4 separate regions of the Homo sapiens genome follow, and regions 2, 3 and 4 are each linked to region 1. The links are contacts of gene promoters, found by promoter capture Hi-C in blood cells and fetal thymus (Javierre and others, 2016). All regions are on one chromosome and are shown on one strand. The core of a region is centred on a gene start or on the middle of the fragment in contact, and the rest is flanking DNA. Distances in the headings are between cores, read along the strand shown. Region 1 holds the start of NIM1K (NIM1 serine/threonine protein kinase). Region 2 has its middle 2.4 kb from the start of PAIP1. Region 3 holds the start of C5orf34 (chromosome 5 open reading frame 34). Region 4 has its middle 86 kb from the start of FLJ32255.

Evidence for each region. The method cuts DNA at HindIII sites, captures the fragments that hold promoters and counts their contacts. A CHiCAGO score of 5 or more calls a contact.
Region 2: a contact is called between a fragment that was not itself captured here and the fragment with the promoter of NIM1K in region 1, in 1 of 17 cell types (monocytes). The highest score is 5.3, in monocytes.
Region 3: a contact is called between the fragment with the promoter of C5orf34 here and the fragment with the promoter of NIM1K in region 1, in 12 of 17 cell types (erythroblasts, M1 macrophages, monocytes and 9 more). The highest score is 11.6, in erythroblasts.
Region 4: a fragment that was not itself captured here is called in contact with the fragment with the promoter of NIM1K in region 1 in 2 of 17 cell types (monocytes and activated CD4 T cells); the score reaches 5.5 in monocytes.

The regions. Positions count from the first base shown.
Region 1 is chr5:43,190,047-43,194,234 of GRCh38, forward strand. NIM1K (NIM1 serine/threonine protein kinase) reads left to right here and starts at 2,179. Exons shown (of 4, transcript NM_153361.4): 1 at 2,179-2,365. RefSeq lists a silencer at 2,020-2,159 and an enhancer at 2,495-3,204. The HindIII fragment of the contact is 11,127 bases long and covers 1-4,188 here.
Region 2 is chr5:43,557,430-43,561,617 of GRCh38, forward strand. No RefSeq gene overlaps it. Among named protein-coding and RNA genes, the nearest start is that of PAIP1, 2.4 kb to the left of the region's middle. The HindIII fragment of the contact is 889 bases long and covers 1,673-2,561 here.
Region 3 is chr5:43,513,218-43,517,405 of GRCh38, forward strand. C5orf34 (chromosome 5 open reading frame 34) reads right to left here and starts at 1,931. Exons shown (of 13, transcript NM_198566.4): 1 at 1,589-1,931. It overlaps LOC124900190 (a long non-coding RNA gene), which reads left to right. Exons shown (of 3, transcript XR_007058764.1): 2 at 976-4,188. RefSeq lists an enhancer at 1,539-1,698. The HindIII fragment of the contact is 8,167 bases long and covers 1-4,188 here.
Region 4 is chr5:42,905,263-42,909,450 of GRCh38, forward strand. It overlaps the pseudogene PRELID3BP5. Among named protein-coding and RNA genes, the nearest start is that of FLJ32255, 86 kb to the right of the region's middle. RefSeq lists enhancers at 3,267-3,316, 3,447-3,506. The HindIII fragment of the contact is 1,271 bases long and covers 1,372-2,642 here.

The DNA.
Region 1 (4,188 bases), core at 929-3,428:
AGTTCTTACAAGTTTCCTATAAAGTTAAGAAAAAAGGGATTTTAATAATACTAGTTGTTGTAAATAAGTGATTCAATTTTAAGCTATCAATTCACCCCTGCTGTGAAAGATACTGAAATCGGCACTCTCAAACCTCTTGATTTAATTATATTTGCATTATCATAAAGTCAGTGTGCAGGTTAGTGCAAGAGAAAATTCATGAACAGAAGGTAGATCTGAAGAAATTACCTAGAATGTAGCACAAAATGTTAAAAATCTAGAGAATCTGAGAAAAGACATGAAATAGAATGAGAAGGTCTGACACACATAGTATAAAATAGAGATTCCTGAAAGAAAGATAAAAGTTGGGAAGGGTTCTGTTATGGACTAAATTTTTGTATCTCCCAATTCATATATTGAAATCTTAACTCCCAATGTGATGGTATTAGCCTAAAGTGTTCAGTAACCTTTTAAGCTACTAGAACCTATCATCACCTCTGCCTTGTGCATGCTCTTTGGGGTGTGATGGTGAGGATCTATGTCACAGAGAGCCTCTGTCAGATTGGGTGTTTGAGGCTCTTGGTTTCTAGGCAATTTCTCTATGAAATTTTATTCTGTTTATTTGAATTCAAGGGTCTTTTATATCTTTAAAAATATGTAGAGTTTCTCCCTGCATTTTATTGCATTAGAAAGAAAATAGACTGATGGCATGTACTATTTTAAAGATTACTCTTAAAAAAAAAAAACAACAAACCTCTTGTCTTTTGAGGAGGGGATGTCTCTTTAAAAACAAATTTTCTCGAGAGAACCCTTGTTCTACATAAATAGATGACCACTCTCAGAAGCCAAGGAAGCAGTTGTTTCAGGTTCTTTCAATTTTCTTTCCAATCTCAACCGTCAGTGCACGGAGCTGTCCAAGGTTTTTATTTCTTGCCCTTCCCGTTCCTGACCCCTTTAATCATCACACAAACAGGCAGCAGAGACAAAGTAATGAAGAACACCAACTCTGGAGTCAAACAAACTGGGTTAGAGTCCCAGAGCCAGCATTCAACAGTTGTGTGATCTCGATCAAATCCTGTAACCTCTCTGGGCTTCAGTTTCTTCATCTATCAAAACAAGGATGACAGTAACAGTACCTAACCCATAGATTATCATGAGGATTTAATCAGTTACTCTTTGTAAAAGAGTTTATTACAATGCCTGGCAAATAGCAAAAAAGGAATTTTGGGGTTCCCTAGTTTCTACCATAAAAGAATTGTAGACATGGGTTATGTTGCTACTTAACAGTTTTGCTCTTGTAAATATTGCTCTGGCAATCAATACAGGATGGAGAGCAGGAGGAAGTAGAAAGAATGCTCGCAGAACTATGACTTAGGGTGTCTAGTCCTGGCTCTGCCATTAATCAGTTGTGTGACCCTTGCTAAGTTAACTGACCCCTCTGAACTCAGTTTTTTTTTTCTCTCTCTGTAAAAGGAAGGGCTTAAACTTCAGTAAATAACCGGTATGTTTTATTTAGTATTTTGCGAATCCCATTTCCAACTCTACGTTCAATCCAGTGACGGTATTTCTAGTTTATAAACTAGAAAAATAATCTTTGGCATCTGAGGGTCACAGCCGAGAGTATCTCCCTAGCAGGAGATTAGGGAGCCAGTGACAAAGTGGCACCAGGGGAACCGATGTATGCCAGGAATCCAGACAGAGGGTGACATTAGCACTTCTTTCTGCAGAACCTAAACCCTGCCCGACTCACCCGGAGGAGCTGTCACGGTGGTTTGCTGGAAACCCCCTTTCTGTTGGGAGGATTACTGGGTCACGGTTTCCCAAGGACATGGAAACCCTTGCTGAAGCGCTGGAACCGCTCGGCACGAGGCGTACGTCGGTGGGAGCTGTGTCAGCCCGCTTTCGGCCGTGTAGCTGCTCCCATCCAGACTCTAGAAGGGGTCCTCTTTGCGTCAGGCCCAATCACCCCCCTCCCCGAGCGACTGCACTGGGTGTCCCTGCGCCGCGCGTCCCCTCCCTCTCGCCCCTCCCTCCTGGCTGCCATAGAAACCAGCTTACAAGGTCCAGGCCGGCGTCCGGGTGCACTACAGGCCCCCCGTCCCTCCTTCCCCACGCCAGCCCCTCGCTCCGGATTGGTCCTTCAGGAAACGCTGTGGGGCGTCTCGGTCCCCGCTGCGGAGCCGGCCTAGGCCGGAGGGCGGGGTTTGCCCTGGGCCGCTGCCGGTCAGGTCGGCCGCCCCTGACAGCTCCGGGAGCCTCAAGCGCGACAGCGGCGCCCTCACCTCGGGACATCCACACACCGACCGCTCCTGCTCCAGAGGCAACAACCCAGCGCGCCTAGCCTGGCGCCGTGCAGCGAAGCCCAAGAGCTGGCCTCGCCACGAAGGTAAGCGAGGGGCTGGGGGACTCGCCGCCAGCACCCCCACCCCGCCACCCTTCCTCTGCTAGGCTGCAGACCTGGGTGGCTGAGGAGGAGGCGCCTCTCCTCCCCGCGACCCAAGGAAGAAAGGAAGCCCTGCCACGGGGTGTCTGCGAAGTGGGGTCAGAAGAAGGTTAGGCGCTTTCTGGGGCGTACCCCCACACCTGCCCAGGCCGATCCGCAAGCGAGAGGAGGGGGCATTAGAGCCAGGGCGAGAGCGTGCTCGCGCGTGTGTGCCCGTGTCATGTGTGGTGCCCGTGTCATGTGCGGCGCCCATGTCTATGTGCGCGCGTGTGTGCACCCATGTCTCTGTATGGTGTGGACACTCGTGTCTGCGTGCGCGTCCACACGTGAGCCGAGGAGCGCAGCTTAGCGCCTAGCGTTGCGCACAGCGGGTGCGCTGGACCAGAGCCCTAAGGCACCAGACCAAATCTGGAGCGTTTGTTACAAGGGCAGAAGACCGGCGTGATCTCCCCACGCGCGCCGGCCGGTGCTGCTGGTGGAGAGAACTGACATCTAACGCATGTGGCCCAGGAGAACAAAACCTTCCATTGCACCCCACGCCGCGACTCTCCCCAGCGAAAGGTGCTTCTTTTGGAAGACCGCACGAAGTAAGGAAGAGCCTCTTTTCCTCTTCCTGGATATCCCTCCAGGAATATTAGAAGCTCCAGGACTCCTTGATACGACCAGGAAAAGATCGCAACCGGGTCTTTAAAATATCGATTCCAGCCAGCTTCTGCGTGCTTGACACATCTTGGCAGATGGAGAAGTCAAGGCAATAGATAACATGGGCAGCAAAGATTCTGCTATAGCACTTCTTTCCTTTCTGTTTTTTCCTTCCCTCCTTCCCTCCTTTTCCCTCTTCTCCCTCCCTCCTTTCCTCCTCCTCCTCTCCCCTTCTCTTCTCCTCCTCCCTCCCTCCCTTTCTCCCTTTCTCCTCTCTTTTCCCCTTCCCTCCCCTGTTTTCGTCCTCCTGAGTACAGTAGACAAGAGGGCTCTCTGTCTACCCCCCCTCCCCCACCCCATTCCTCATCCCGTTTCAAAATAAGAGCGAATGAATCACATTCTAAGCTCTTACCCGTGCAGTTCTGACAAGTTTGGAAATTACACAAATCGCGTTTGCAATTGAGGCCGCGGGAATCCAAAAGGGAAACAAACGAAACCAGATGAAAAAAAGTGATTCCAAGTCAAGATTTCAAATGGAAATCTAAGGTGAATATTTGTTTATGGTAATAAGATTTTTTTTAATGTTTGAAAAGTATGTATCACACTAGCTTGCATCATCAGTATTCAATGTGATTCACAGAACCGCTTCAAAAGATGGTTTCTGTTAGTGTTGCAACAGCACTTCTAATTCTGGTTGTCATGGTTACTGAAGAAGTCGCCCTGCTCTATTGAGAGGCTGTCTAGTTAGAAGCAGGAACTGTTCTCCAGAGGACCTTCTCTTGTACCCTCGTTGTCACCATGGTAATAATTGAGTTTATGAAAATGTACTTACTTTTTCCCTTAAAGTACTAAAATCCCAAGGCATGTTGTTGTTTTTTTTATTTTATTTTTTCAGAGTTTGCAGTCCATGCAACACAGCTTTCCGCTCAGACAAATGAGAGTAAACACTGCCCTCCAGCAAGTTAAATGGCCCCAAATAGTCATGCTGCCCAGCTCTCTTCCCACAGCTCACTGCACGAACAGAGGACAGAGGAGGGTGTTAGATGTTCCACGAATCCTGGCCTGAGCCCAGATCGCCCTCGCCATTTAGCATTTACATTTGGAAGCCTAATTAGCTTTCTAAT
Region 2 (4,188 bases), core at 867-3,366, 370 kb after region 1:
GGCGTGGACCCTGCGCCAGGGTTCGCTGGCGCACAGGTGTGTTCAATGACTCGGCTCCGGCCGAGACCCGCGGACTGCTGAGGAGTGGTCCCTGGGAGACTGTCACCTGCTCCGTTAGCATCGGGGGAAGGGAGTAGAAACGGAATCAAAATATGTGTCCCCTCTTTAATTCACCCTAGGTGTTTACCACAGTAGGTCACACCTACGTTTAACAAGCTTCGTTCTCTTCCCGTTAACCTTCCCCTCCAGAAATTTCAAGAAAATGTGCTACCTTTCAGTGTAACTCTGCCCTCTTTTTCATCTTGCATCAGTGCTGTCCAATGAAAATATAATGCGAGCCACAAATGCAAGCCACTTATGTAATTTTACATTTTGGAGAAGCCACATTAAATGAGTGAAAAGAAACAGGTGTGGCCAGGCGCAGTGGCTCACGCCTGTAATCCCAGCACTTTGGGAGGCCGAGGGGGGCGGATCACCTGAGGTCGGGAGTTCGAGACCAGCCAGACCAACATGGAGAAACCCCGTCTCTACTAAAAATACAAAGTTAGCCGGGCGTGGTGGCACATGCCTGTAATCCTAGCTATTCTGGAGGCTGAGGCAGGAGAATCGCTTGAACGCAGGAGGCAGAGGTTGCAGTGAGCCGAGATCGTACCGTTGCACTCCAGCCTGGGCAACAAGAGCCAAACTCTGTCTCAAAAAACAAAACAAAACAAAACAAAAACCAGGTGAAATTAATTTAAATTTATTTAATCCATTATGTTCAAAATGGTTTTTTAACATGCGATTTAAAATATTAAATATTTTCTCTGTTTTTTAGATACTAGTTGAAATCCAGTGTATATTTTACACTTATGGCACATCTTAGTCGGGATTGGCACATTTCAAGGGCTCAAGAGCCACATGTGGCTAGTGGCTACTGCGTTGCACAGCACAATTCTAGATTTTATTAATATGTAAATTGTTGTTTTTGTCAGGCCTGACAGTATTAATGCCAAATAAAGGATAGATGAATATAAGTAACGACAAGGAAGGAAAAATTGATTTCTTTACTGTTGGATTGATCCATCTCCATAAATTCTGATTTTAGCCTTTTGTTTTAAGCAGGGTTTCATGTTTTTCTATCTTTTCATCTTAAGAATCATTTCAATTAGGGACACAAACTCTTGTTAACCGTTTTCTCTTCTCATTAATAAAGAAAACAATGTCTTCCCCTAAACGAATGAGAAAATGGCTTCACCGAGGGCAATCATGAATAAATGGTTCATGCTATTGATGTTAGGCAAAATAATGAAGTCAGGGAAGGAAGCCAGCAGTACGTGTGGCTCTTCGGTGTACGGAAAGTTTAGGATTCAGTCTGCCAGAGCTTAGTTGGGATTCCACTCTTGACTATTGCTGTCTGTGTGATTTTGAGTAAGTAAGGGGTTTAGCTTCTCTGAGCCTCACTTTCCTCATCTGTAAAATAATAACTGTGTGGTAACACTCAGCATATATTGCAGAGACAAGATTACAATTTAAAAATTACAATTTTAATATTTTCAAATTCATTATTGTATGTGGTCACCAGTCACTTCTTGCCTGGACTTTTTTATCATACAGGAAAGACCCATAAACTATGCTAAAAAACTAACAATGAGTTATGTTCCACTGAAGTAGATGCCCCAACTCTGCCCCAAGCTTTTGTTTGCACTCACCACCTTTTCATTTCCCCTTAAAACTTTTATGATGAACAGCACCTTTTCTAACAACTGGGACTTTCCCATGTGAAGATAAGGCCATTCTGCATCCATGGTGATGTCACGACATCTTCACACCCTCTTGTTAGGAAAATTAGGTAAGATATCCTTTGCCTTCTCTGTATTTGTTACTGTATAACTTTTGCCCTATTCTTATAATGTGTGGATGGTGGACTTGGAGATAACACGAATGGATTTTGCATCATGATAATAAAAATATCTAATATTTATTATGCGTCAGTCACCTTTTAAGAGCTTTTATTTTATCATTTTATTTTATCCTCATATCCTGTGAGATAGACATTCCAATATTTTCACTTTACATAAAAGGTGCCAAGATACCGCAAGGGCTCAGATCCATCTTGGGACTGTTTTAGAGCTAACTGGCAGGTATTGCAAAATGCATAGACAGAAACACATGAACGTGTGAACACCATGTGGAACTCCCTAAAGAGAATCATCAAAGTGCTCCTCATCCACGTGTATGCCTTTTTTATTAATTTATGGTGAAAGGAGAGTAGAACTAAATTTGGACAAATTGGAAAATATGTTGTAATATGGAAAAGGACCTGCTGTGAACTATGAAAAAAATGTTTCCTTAAACTGTACTTGAAAGGCATTCTCCAGTAAGACTTCCCAAGCTGCCTAATCTTAGATTCTCTCCCTTGTGATAAGTATACCCTGGGAAAACTGTCTTGGTACTTAGCATGCCAGATTGTTATCGTTAGTATTTGGTTTATTTAAATGTCTCCTTCCCTAAACTAGCCCTCTGAAGACAGAGGATGCCTTTTAATCCTTTAGGTCCAACCCAGTACTTAGTCCATAATAAGCTTTTAACAGAAATAGGACTCACCTGCAATGGTCCTGCCTTTCCTTAGGTCACCAGTCTAGTGATGGTAAAAAAAAAAAAAAAAAAAAAAAGACTGTTTTTTTAGAACTTATTGACCTCAGGATCATCATTAGACCTTATGGGAGTAGACAGTACAGCCTTCAAGGCCAGCTAACAGGAGAAAATTTTCATAAATATGCAAGAGGAAATATTTGCAAACCACATGGTATAGTTTGTATATTTGACCCTCCAAGCCTCCTGTTGAAACTTGATCCTGAATGTTGGAGGTGGGGCCTAATGGAAGGCGTTTGGGTCATGGTGGCAGATTCCTCATGAATGGCATGGTGCCATTCTCACAGTAACGAATGAGTTATGGTTTTACTAGTTCCCAAGGAGTTTCCCCAAGAGCTGGTTGTTGAAAAGAGCCTGGCACACTCCCCCTGTCTCATGCTTCCTCTCTTGCCATGTAATCTCTGCACACTGTCTCCCCTTCACTTTCTGCCATGCATAGAAGCAGGCTGAAGCCCTCACCAGAAGCAGATGTTGGTGCCATGCTTCTAGTACAGCCTGCAGAATAGTGAGCCAAATGAAACCCTTTTCTTTATAAATTACCCAGCCTCAGCTATTCCTTTATAGCAACAAAAATGGATGAAGGCACCACATATTTGACAAAAGACTTGTATCTAGAATATATAAAGTACTCTCAGAACTCAACTGTATTGAGAGTACTATAGCCAGGTGCGATCCCAGCACTATGGGAGGCTGAGGCGGACAGATTACCTGAGGTCAGGAGTTCGAGACCAACCTGGACAACATGTGAAACCCCGTCTCTACTAAAAATACAAAAATTAGCAGGCATGGTGATGCGTGCTTGTAATCCCAGCTACTTGGGAGGCTGAGGCAGGGGAATCGCTTGAACCCGGGAGGCAGAGGTTGCAGTGAGCCGAGATTGCACCACTGCACTCCAGCCTGGGTTGAGCGTGACTCCGTCTGAAAAAAACCCAAACAAACAAAACACCTAACTCAACTGTAAAAGGACAGTTCAGTTAGAAAAGGGCCAAACATAAATGAAAGAACACTTCACTGAAGGGAATATACAGATAGCATAAGCCTATGAAAAATGTTCAACATAATTAGCCAGTAGGAAAATTTTTTTAAAACCACTGAGATTTCACTACCTACTTATTCGAATAGCTTAAATAAACAATAGTGACAATGCAAATTCAAGGATGTAGAGAAACTAGGAACTGTGTTGCTCATACATTGCTGGTGAGAATGTAAAATGCTATAGTCACTTTAGAAAACAGTTTCTTTAAAAAACTCTACATATTAAGTACTGTACTACCTAGCAATTGCACTGCTGGACATTTCTCACAGAGAATTAAGATTTATATTCACATAAAATCCTGTACCCAAATATTTAGAGTGGCATCATTAATAAGAGCCCCAAATTAGAAAGAACCCAAATATCCTTTGATGAATAGTTAAACTGTGGTACATTCATACCACAGAATGCTACTCAGCAAAAAAAAGGAACAACTGCTCATATAAGAATGTTGATGGATCTCAAGGGAATTATGCTGAACACAAAATTTCAATCTCAAGAGCAATTGTATGATTCAATTT
Region 3 (4,188 bases), core at 681-3,180, 320 kb after region 1:
ACTTTTAATTATTTTCTTTCTCTAGAGAACTAAATGTACCTGACCTCTCACAGAGCTTTCAGGTGGCTGCCTGCTAGACCGCTCTCTATGTCCCTGTCCCATAGATAAATCAAACTCAACATAACTAAAATGGAACTTAATCACTCCTACCAAAAGCAGGCTTCTGTAATACCCCCTAATTGCACTTTCACTCTCATCTCTTCCCTCAAATCCAGTCTGCATACAGTAGTGCCCAGAGGGATCTTTTAAAATGAAAATCACATCTATCACTTCGTGGCTTAAAACCCACCAGTACCTTCCATTTCTACTTAAAATCCAAACTCCTAAACTATGGCCTACAAAGGCCACACAGTCTGGTCCTATCTACCTCTCCCAATGTCATTTCTCAACTCTCTCCTACTTCTACAGGGCACTTTAGATACATTGGCATTTTAAATGTTCTTTAAACAAGCTCTTTCCCATCTTTGCAGTTCTTTCTGCCTGCCTTGTCTTTTCCTTGGCTAATCACAAGGCTGGTTCTTTATCATCATCAAGGTTTCAGCACAAATGTAACTCCTACAAGGGCCCAACGACCAACTAAGTTAAAGTTACTCCCAAACATCTCCCAATCATTTGTCATCCCTCTTCAAGTTTTTTCTTCATAGAATCTATCATCAAAATTGATTATTTACTTGCTTTTTATTTTCTCCCACTAGGATATAAAGTCAACCGAAGCAGGGGCCTTATCTGTCTTATATGTAACAGTATCTCTGGCATCTAAAACAGTATTAGGCAAATAGTAAATGGCACAATAAATATTTGAATGATGAAAAATAAGTAAACTGCTCCTCTTGAATTTGCAATTTGAATTAATGGTGTCTCATTGTTAGCAGCCAATATTCTAAAACTTGACTTTCCACTCCATGCCCCTGTAACAAGTCCTGTTGATTTTCTGTCTTTGGAACCTGACTCTCTCTACCTCTTTCTCTTTTTCAGGCCATAGACTCTCCAACTCCTGCAACTGTCTGGAATTTCTTCTCTCTCCAATCCATCTCTAGTATTGATGACATAGGTAACTTTCCACAAGTCACACCATACCAAGTGCTTTACATCACCTGTTTACGTACTTATCAAATGGCAATATAGATTACAGATATATATATAAACACACACGTATATATCGGGTATGTCTACTTGGTATTTTAGGGGAAAAAACGGGTGCTGATACATAGATGGAAGACATTTTCTGATTCCAATTTGGGAAAAATAGTCTATCTTTGGTCAGGTCTTTTTTTTAATAGCTTTACTGAGGCGGTTTTCTAATTTTAAATAATCAAGCATACACAACAAACAGTGTAATGACTAAGGTTCTTGGCATACCATAGGAAACCATAACCCGGCTCCAACCCACACTGCCATTCTCATCTCTACAGTCTCATTCCCGCTTGCGTTCTCATCACCCAGCACATTACGTCAGGGTATGTTTAACACTCAAAAATCCACAAGTCTGTTCTTGACATGAATGAGAATCTCATTTCTTTCAAAATGCTATAGTCTCTAGTTACAGAAGGAGCCTGATCAAAACAACCACCAAAAGTCTTCCACTCACAGCAGTTCGGAGCCGAAAAGTTGCGGAAATGAGGCCCAGCAACGGTCCCTGGCTTTGATTTGCCAAAATGCTCTGGAAGCCGCAGCGTCGGCGCCTGCCCACCACTGCTTCTTCAGGGGTTTCTTCAGTTTGACAAATTACCAGCGAGTGATATTTCTTGGTGAAAGAAAAAAATCACAACCCTAGAGGAATAAGGTGGCAGGGAGAGTGTTTTGGCCAAGATGCCCGCCACGAAACAGGAAAGCGGAGACAGCGCCAACTGTAACCACTAAGAGAAAGCGCAAACCGCACAAGACCAGTTCAAAACCAGCGCCCTCAGGGAGCCGCTTCAGAGCTCCGCAACAGGGAAGACAGGAAGTCCCGCCCCTCCACAACAGGAAGGGCCGGAAGTCCCGCCCCTCCACTCCGGAGGCTGCCCTCGCTGCGTTCCCTACGAAGGGCGGAGCAGGAATTGGTGTAGGAAGGGGACGGGTGTTTCCTTGTTCGGAATGGGGTTGGCTCCTCTTTGATTTTTTACTTCTGGTGACCCACGCAAAAGCAGTCCCGACCTGGTTGTATTAATAATAAAGGCTGTAAGGATCAGCCTTTTGAACGGTCCAGCCGAGAACTAACCACAGAGCGCGTTTTAGTGGAGTGGTACTTATTTTTAAATAAGGTAAAAAACGATTATACTTCAGTAAAGCTGTTTAGAAAAAAAAAAACTTGGCCAAAGATGGAGAACTCTTCCTAATTTGGTATCAGAAAATAGGTCGTCTATGTATCTGCACCTTTTTTCCTTATAAAGTGGCAAATAAATGTGTCTGCTATATTTATTGCCACTAAACAAGTGTTTATGGAACACTCACTGTGTGTTTAGGCATAGTGGGGATAAAGCAGGGAAGGTGGCCCAGTTCTTTGCGGGTGAGGATCAGAGCTAGAGATTAACTGGAAAGAAAGAATAAACAATCATTTATTACAGTTGTGAGTGTTTCTAAGATAAAATACAGAGGTTTGTGAGAGCATAGAGAGGCATACCTTGTTTTATTGTGCATTTTATTGTGCTTTGCAGATACTGAGTTTACTACAAATGGAAGGTTTGAGGCAACCTTGATGGAGCAAGTGTATGGGTGCCATGTTTTTCCAACATCATGTGCTCACTTTGTGTCTCTGACATATTTTGGTAATTCCCACAATATTTCAAACTTTTTCATTATTTTTGTATCTGTTAGAGTGATCTGTGTGATCACTGATCTTTGATGTCACTACTGTAATTGTTTTGGGGGACCACAGATCATGCTCATACATTATAAAATGGCGAACTGAATCTGTTACAGGTAGTTAGGCATGAGCAAGGCAGGAGAGGGCTCTCCCCTGCCACCCACCCACTAGAAATGTTGGGTGATGGTTCAGCAATTATCACATGGCCTCTCTAAAAATGAAAATTTGGCAGCGCCAGGGAAAGGCCATTTCCTGATGGCCCACACCTGTTAACATCAAAATGTTAATTGAATGCAGGCCCCAGAGAGAAGCAACTTCCTGGGCATGCCGGTTAAGAGACAAAAGTGATGAAGTATGATTTTTCTGATACACTCCACCGGAAAAAGGAAGAAAGCCTCAGATGGGCATGTGTATAAATCCATAAAATCACTGTGTGTGCTCACTTCCCAAGGGTAAAGAGGGCTCTGAGCATGCAGGGAGCCCATCCTAAGATCATGGTTAAATGCGGCACTTGACCTTCTCTCTCTCTCTCTCCTTTTCTTTTTCTTTTTTTTTTGAGACGGAGTCTCACTCTGTCGCCCAGGCTGCAGTGCAGTGGCGCGATTTCAGCTCACTGCAATCTCCGCCTCCCGGGTTCAAGCAATTCTCTGCCTCAGCCCCCTCCCCGAGTAGCTGGGATTACAGGCGCCCACCACCATACCCGGCTAATTTTTTTGTATTTTTAGTAGAGACAGGGTTTCACCATCTTGGCCAGGCTGGTCTTGAACTCCTGACCTCATGATCCACCTGCTTCAGCCTCCCAAAGTTCTGGGATTATAGGCGTGAGCCACTGCACCCGGCTGGCCTTCTCTCTTTAACCTTCACATGCCCACTTGGGTCTCTTCCATGCGTACCTTCCTTTCTTTCCTGTTCTAATGCCTGTTTAAATAAACCTCCATTCCTACTCTGGAACTTGCTTCAGTCTCTTTTCTGCTTTATGTCTGTCAGTCAAATTCTTTCTTCTCTGAGGAGGCCAGGACTGAAGTTGCTATGGACCTGCAAGGATAGGCTGCTGGTAACTTGGGGTAACTCAGATCTCTTCCACTAGTAACAAGTCGATTGATATATATTGTGTGTGTCTGGCTGCTGTATTCACTGGCCACTCTCATCTCTCACCCTCTCCTAGAGCCTTCCTATTCCTTGAGACACAACAATATCAAAATTAGGCAAAGTAATACCCCTACAGTGGCTTCTAAGTGTCCAAGTAAAAGAGGGTTGTATGTCTCTCACTTTAAATCATAACCTAGAAATGCATGATTAAGCCTGTAAGGAAGGCATGTTGAAAGCTAAGATAGGCTGAAAGCTAAGCCTCTTGTGTCAAACAGCCAAGTTGTGAATACAAAGAAAAAATTCTTAAAGGAAAT
Region 4 (4,188 bases), core at 757-3,256, 280 kb before region 1:
GAGCAAGAAGTTTCTATGTTGGAGATCATTCCTTGTTTAGTTCTTCCTCTCCAAAGTACTAGGAGCAAGAAGTCTATGATGGAGATCATTCCTTATTTAGTTCTTCTTCTCCAAAGTACCTCAAAGATTTCCAAATTATAAAAACTATCTTTGTGTAATCAAGAATATGCTAAGGAACTTTACTTCTAGATAGACTCAGAATTCATGGTAGATGGTAAATTTTGTTATATGTATTTTACCACAATAAAAATAAATAGAAAATAAAAGACAAGAAGGAAATGAAAGAATTGAGTGACTACCACTGCCCTGCTTCTCACTAACATCCCAAGTTGTCTTTGAGGACACACCTCTCCTCAAGCTTTTCTCTGCCTGGAGAACAAGATTGCAGTCTCTGCTCCAGGACTAGCAATGTGGTTTGGGGCAATAATAAACTATTAACCAGGGTTCCTCAAAAGAGCTTTCCCTCCACAGGTTAAGGAGTACCTTTTCTTTTTATCACTTAAACCACCCTATCACAGATTGAGTTTCGTCTAAGATGTTAGGGTTTTATGTTAATACCAGTAATTCCATCTTCTGTTACAATTTGCTTCTAGAATTAATATCACCACTATGCTTCCTATGATCTGATTAGGACCAGGCACTTGGCCAGAAAAGTGTAAAAACTCAAAAGCTGATGTCTCCTGCTGTGAGACTGGATGAAACACCTTTTCCCTTGTGTTCAGGAGCCCTTGGATTACACAATTCCATATTGCTTTCAGATTGGCCAGCCCAGAGGAAATCTTAGCAGATAATCTAACCTGGGTGTTGCACACAGAGGCCACCCTGAGGGAGCCAAAGCCAGGGCTGCATTCATAGTCCCTTTATCCCCTAGACCTTCAAAAGGTTTCAAATTGAAATCACGATCATGTCATCTAAGATAACAATTAATTTCTCTTTACAATTAATTGCCATTCAGGGATGTTGTGGTTTGAATATTTGTCCCTTCTGAAACTCATGTTGAAACTTAATCCCCAATGTAGCAATATTGAGAGGTAGGGCCTTTAAGCAGTGATTGGGTCTTGAGGGCTCTGCCCGTTTGATGTCTTAATCCATTTATGGATTAACGGTTAATTGGTTAATGGAATAATGGGTTATCAGAGGATTGGGATTGTGGTTTTATTTTTTTTTAAGTAGATTTTGAGACTTCAGAACAGAAAATGAGGATGATAAGATGGGAAGCCCCCTCCATATCCAAACCACAAAAACACTCTAACTCATCTTTCACCATCTGCTTATTTTTTATGACATGGATAATTGACATGTAATTAGTCTAATAATGAGTGCAAAGCAAACACAGCTCTAGTTCCACGTTCCAATAAGATGCAACATCTAAGCTTCTCTATACTGATACTTAGAACTGCCACTATGTGAAAAGATTGATGTAATCACAGCTAGACTAGATTAATGCTGTCATCTAGTTTATGGGTTTTGATTTCTAACATTTGAGGGGACAGAAAAGTGTAAAAGTCCCAAGTGTATTCTCTACTGCATGTTTTTCATCTCTGCCCAAGGATTTTGGTGTAAAGGCTGGAAACCTTTACACCAAATCTTTACACTAAAGTTGTGAAGACACATAAATCTTTCTCCTGGGATGCCCACAAGAAGGAATGAGTCTTAGTTGCTGCAGGACCTGAGATGGGCAGAGATTATGAGAGCCTCCCATACACTTGGTGTTCTGCACTGAATTGTGTTCCCCCAAAATTCATGATAATTTTGATTAACTAATCTCCAAGTGATGGTATTTGGAGATGGGGCCTTTGGGAGACAATTAAGTTTAGATGAGGTCATGAGGGTTGGGGTTTCATAATGGGATTAGTGCCCTTATGAGAAGAGGAAGAGATACCAGGTCCCTCTCCTTCTCTCCCTTTCTTCTCTTGCCCCTCTACCCACTTCTCTCTCTCCTTCTGTGCCATGTGAGAACACAGCTACAACATGGCCATTGGCATGACAGGAAGACAGCCCTCACCAGGAGCTGAATCACTGGCGCTTTCATCTTGGACTTCCAGATCCTGGGCAAGACTCACCAAGGCAGACATCTGTAGCTGCCTGGAATTGTCTGATCTGGAGTTGATGCTCTGGAACCCTGTGGTTGTTAACTCAGAAGGCACAAGGCTAGGGATCTTCTTTCAGTCCCCGTTAGTCTATCCCCACTCTTCATTTTCTCTTTTGTTTTTCAAGTAATGAATTTATTTTTCCAATTAATGTAGCCAGCTCATGGTACAGCATATTAAAGCATAAAGTACAAATCCAAGGAAGGTAATACCTTTACTATGTTATAAAACTTTGACAAATCAATATATTACTTTTTATTATAATAAAAGCATATGTTTCTGGGAGTCATATACTACTTTAGGGATAATTTTTACTCCAAAAATATTCAAGTACTAAACCAAAACACTGGTTTTTAATGGTGGTTTATAGCAGAGCAAGTTATTTTATACACATTAATATCATTTAAAACTGAGCAATTTCTCCTTTTAAAGTGAAGTTCCTTATGCAAGCTGTTGAAGTTTATGGCAGCAGGGCAATTGTGTGTATATAAGAGGTGGCTCTGCTTTGTTCTGAAGTTCCACCAAAGTCAGGTAGTGTTCCCAGGTGTTAAAAGCTTTAAAATTCTACCTCAAAATGATTCAATGTCAATGCAAACTGCCAAGTACTTTTTGAAAAATTTTTAAATTTTCACATAAATACTGGAACTCTCAAAATTAGACAATCATTTCAAACAACACTTATTTTAGATGATCCCTTTTATTTAGACACCCTGAACCTCTTTGTTTTTATTCCATGTCACAAAGTCTTCTATCAGTCTATTTTTTAAAAATTCTACCTAAGATACGGTTTTAAAATAACAGATTGCAAGGTTGGAGACACCTGGGGTACTTGATGTCTTCCAACATCCATTATCATTTCTCTGTAAATGATGCTGCTACTATCCGAGTTCTTATGCTTCCTCTTTTTGAAGCCAGCAATTTCTCAATCTTAACATGTAGTTTAAGTATTACCCATTCCAGTGCTTCTCAGCCTTTATTAGCATTTGAAGATATTGTACTTGTCTTCAGTTCTTCAAGGTAACTGCTGAGGCTGATTCTTTTCACAATGATTGTGGTTTCTTGAGTCAAAATAGTTTTTTTTCTGGGTCCTGAAGACTATGTTTTGGCTCTTGCTGCAACAGTAAGGGACTTGCAGTTCCCACTCTGTGCAGAGAAGTCTGTGGCCTTGCAACTTTCCAGAGGGATCTATATATCCTTCCAACACATCAACCCACACCCTGCTCAGGTTCGCAGGGCTTGGGTATTTGTGCATTGCAGCTGTTGTAACAGTTTCCCACGGGTGGTGAAAGACGTGCTCTGCAGTCCAGATCTTGATGGTGCAGGCAGTCTGCTAGATGTCTGTGAAGCGCAGGGGAAAATGAGGTGAGGAGGCTACACCTGTCCCACCCCGTCGGGGGCCCTTCAACCAGCTTCGCTGTGCGCAGGTGCCGTCGGCTCCAAGTGAGGCGGTCCTCCACTCTTCGTTACAATGTAACATTTAAACCATTTAAAGCAGAGATCCGCAACGTTTTTGGCACCAGGGACCAGTTTAGTGGAATACAATTTTTCTACGGATGGAGAGGGGTGTGGGGATGGTTTCGGGATGAAGGTGTTAGAAATCAAATAATCAGGCACGCAATAGATTCTCAAAAGGAGAGCAAAAGCTAGTCTTGGTCCTGCGCATGCGCAGTTCACAATAGGGTTCGCACTCCTGTGAGAATTTAATGCAGCAGATCTGACGCTAGGCGGAGCTCAGCCAGTAATGCTCGCTTGCCCACTGCTCAGCTCCTGCTTTGGGGCCGGGTTCCTAACCGGTCCGTGGTGGGGGGGATTGGGGACCCCTGATTTAAAGAACAGTGCTAATGCCTGTTTTCTGCCTTTATTTGGAGGGCCACAGTCAGTTTCAAAGCAACTCCAGCATATGATCCACCCAGCTGTCCCCTCCCACCCTGTTAGTATCCACAGCTCCTCAAAGGCCCCTGGAATTTAGACTAAAGCCTGATCACGCCACTGCACACCGGCCTAGGCGACCCAGCGAGACCCCCATCTTAAATAATAATAAGACTCAAAAGAAAAAGAAAAAGCTCTGAGCTAGGTCCCTGCCCCCTTTCTGTCTGCT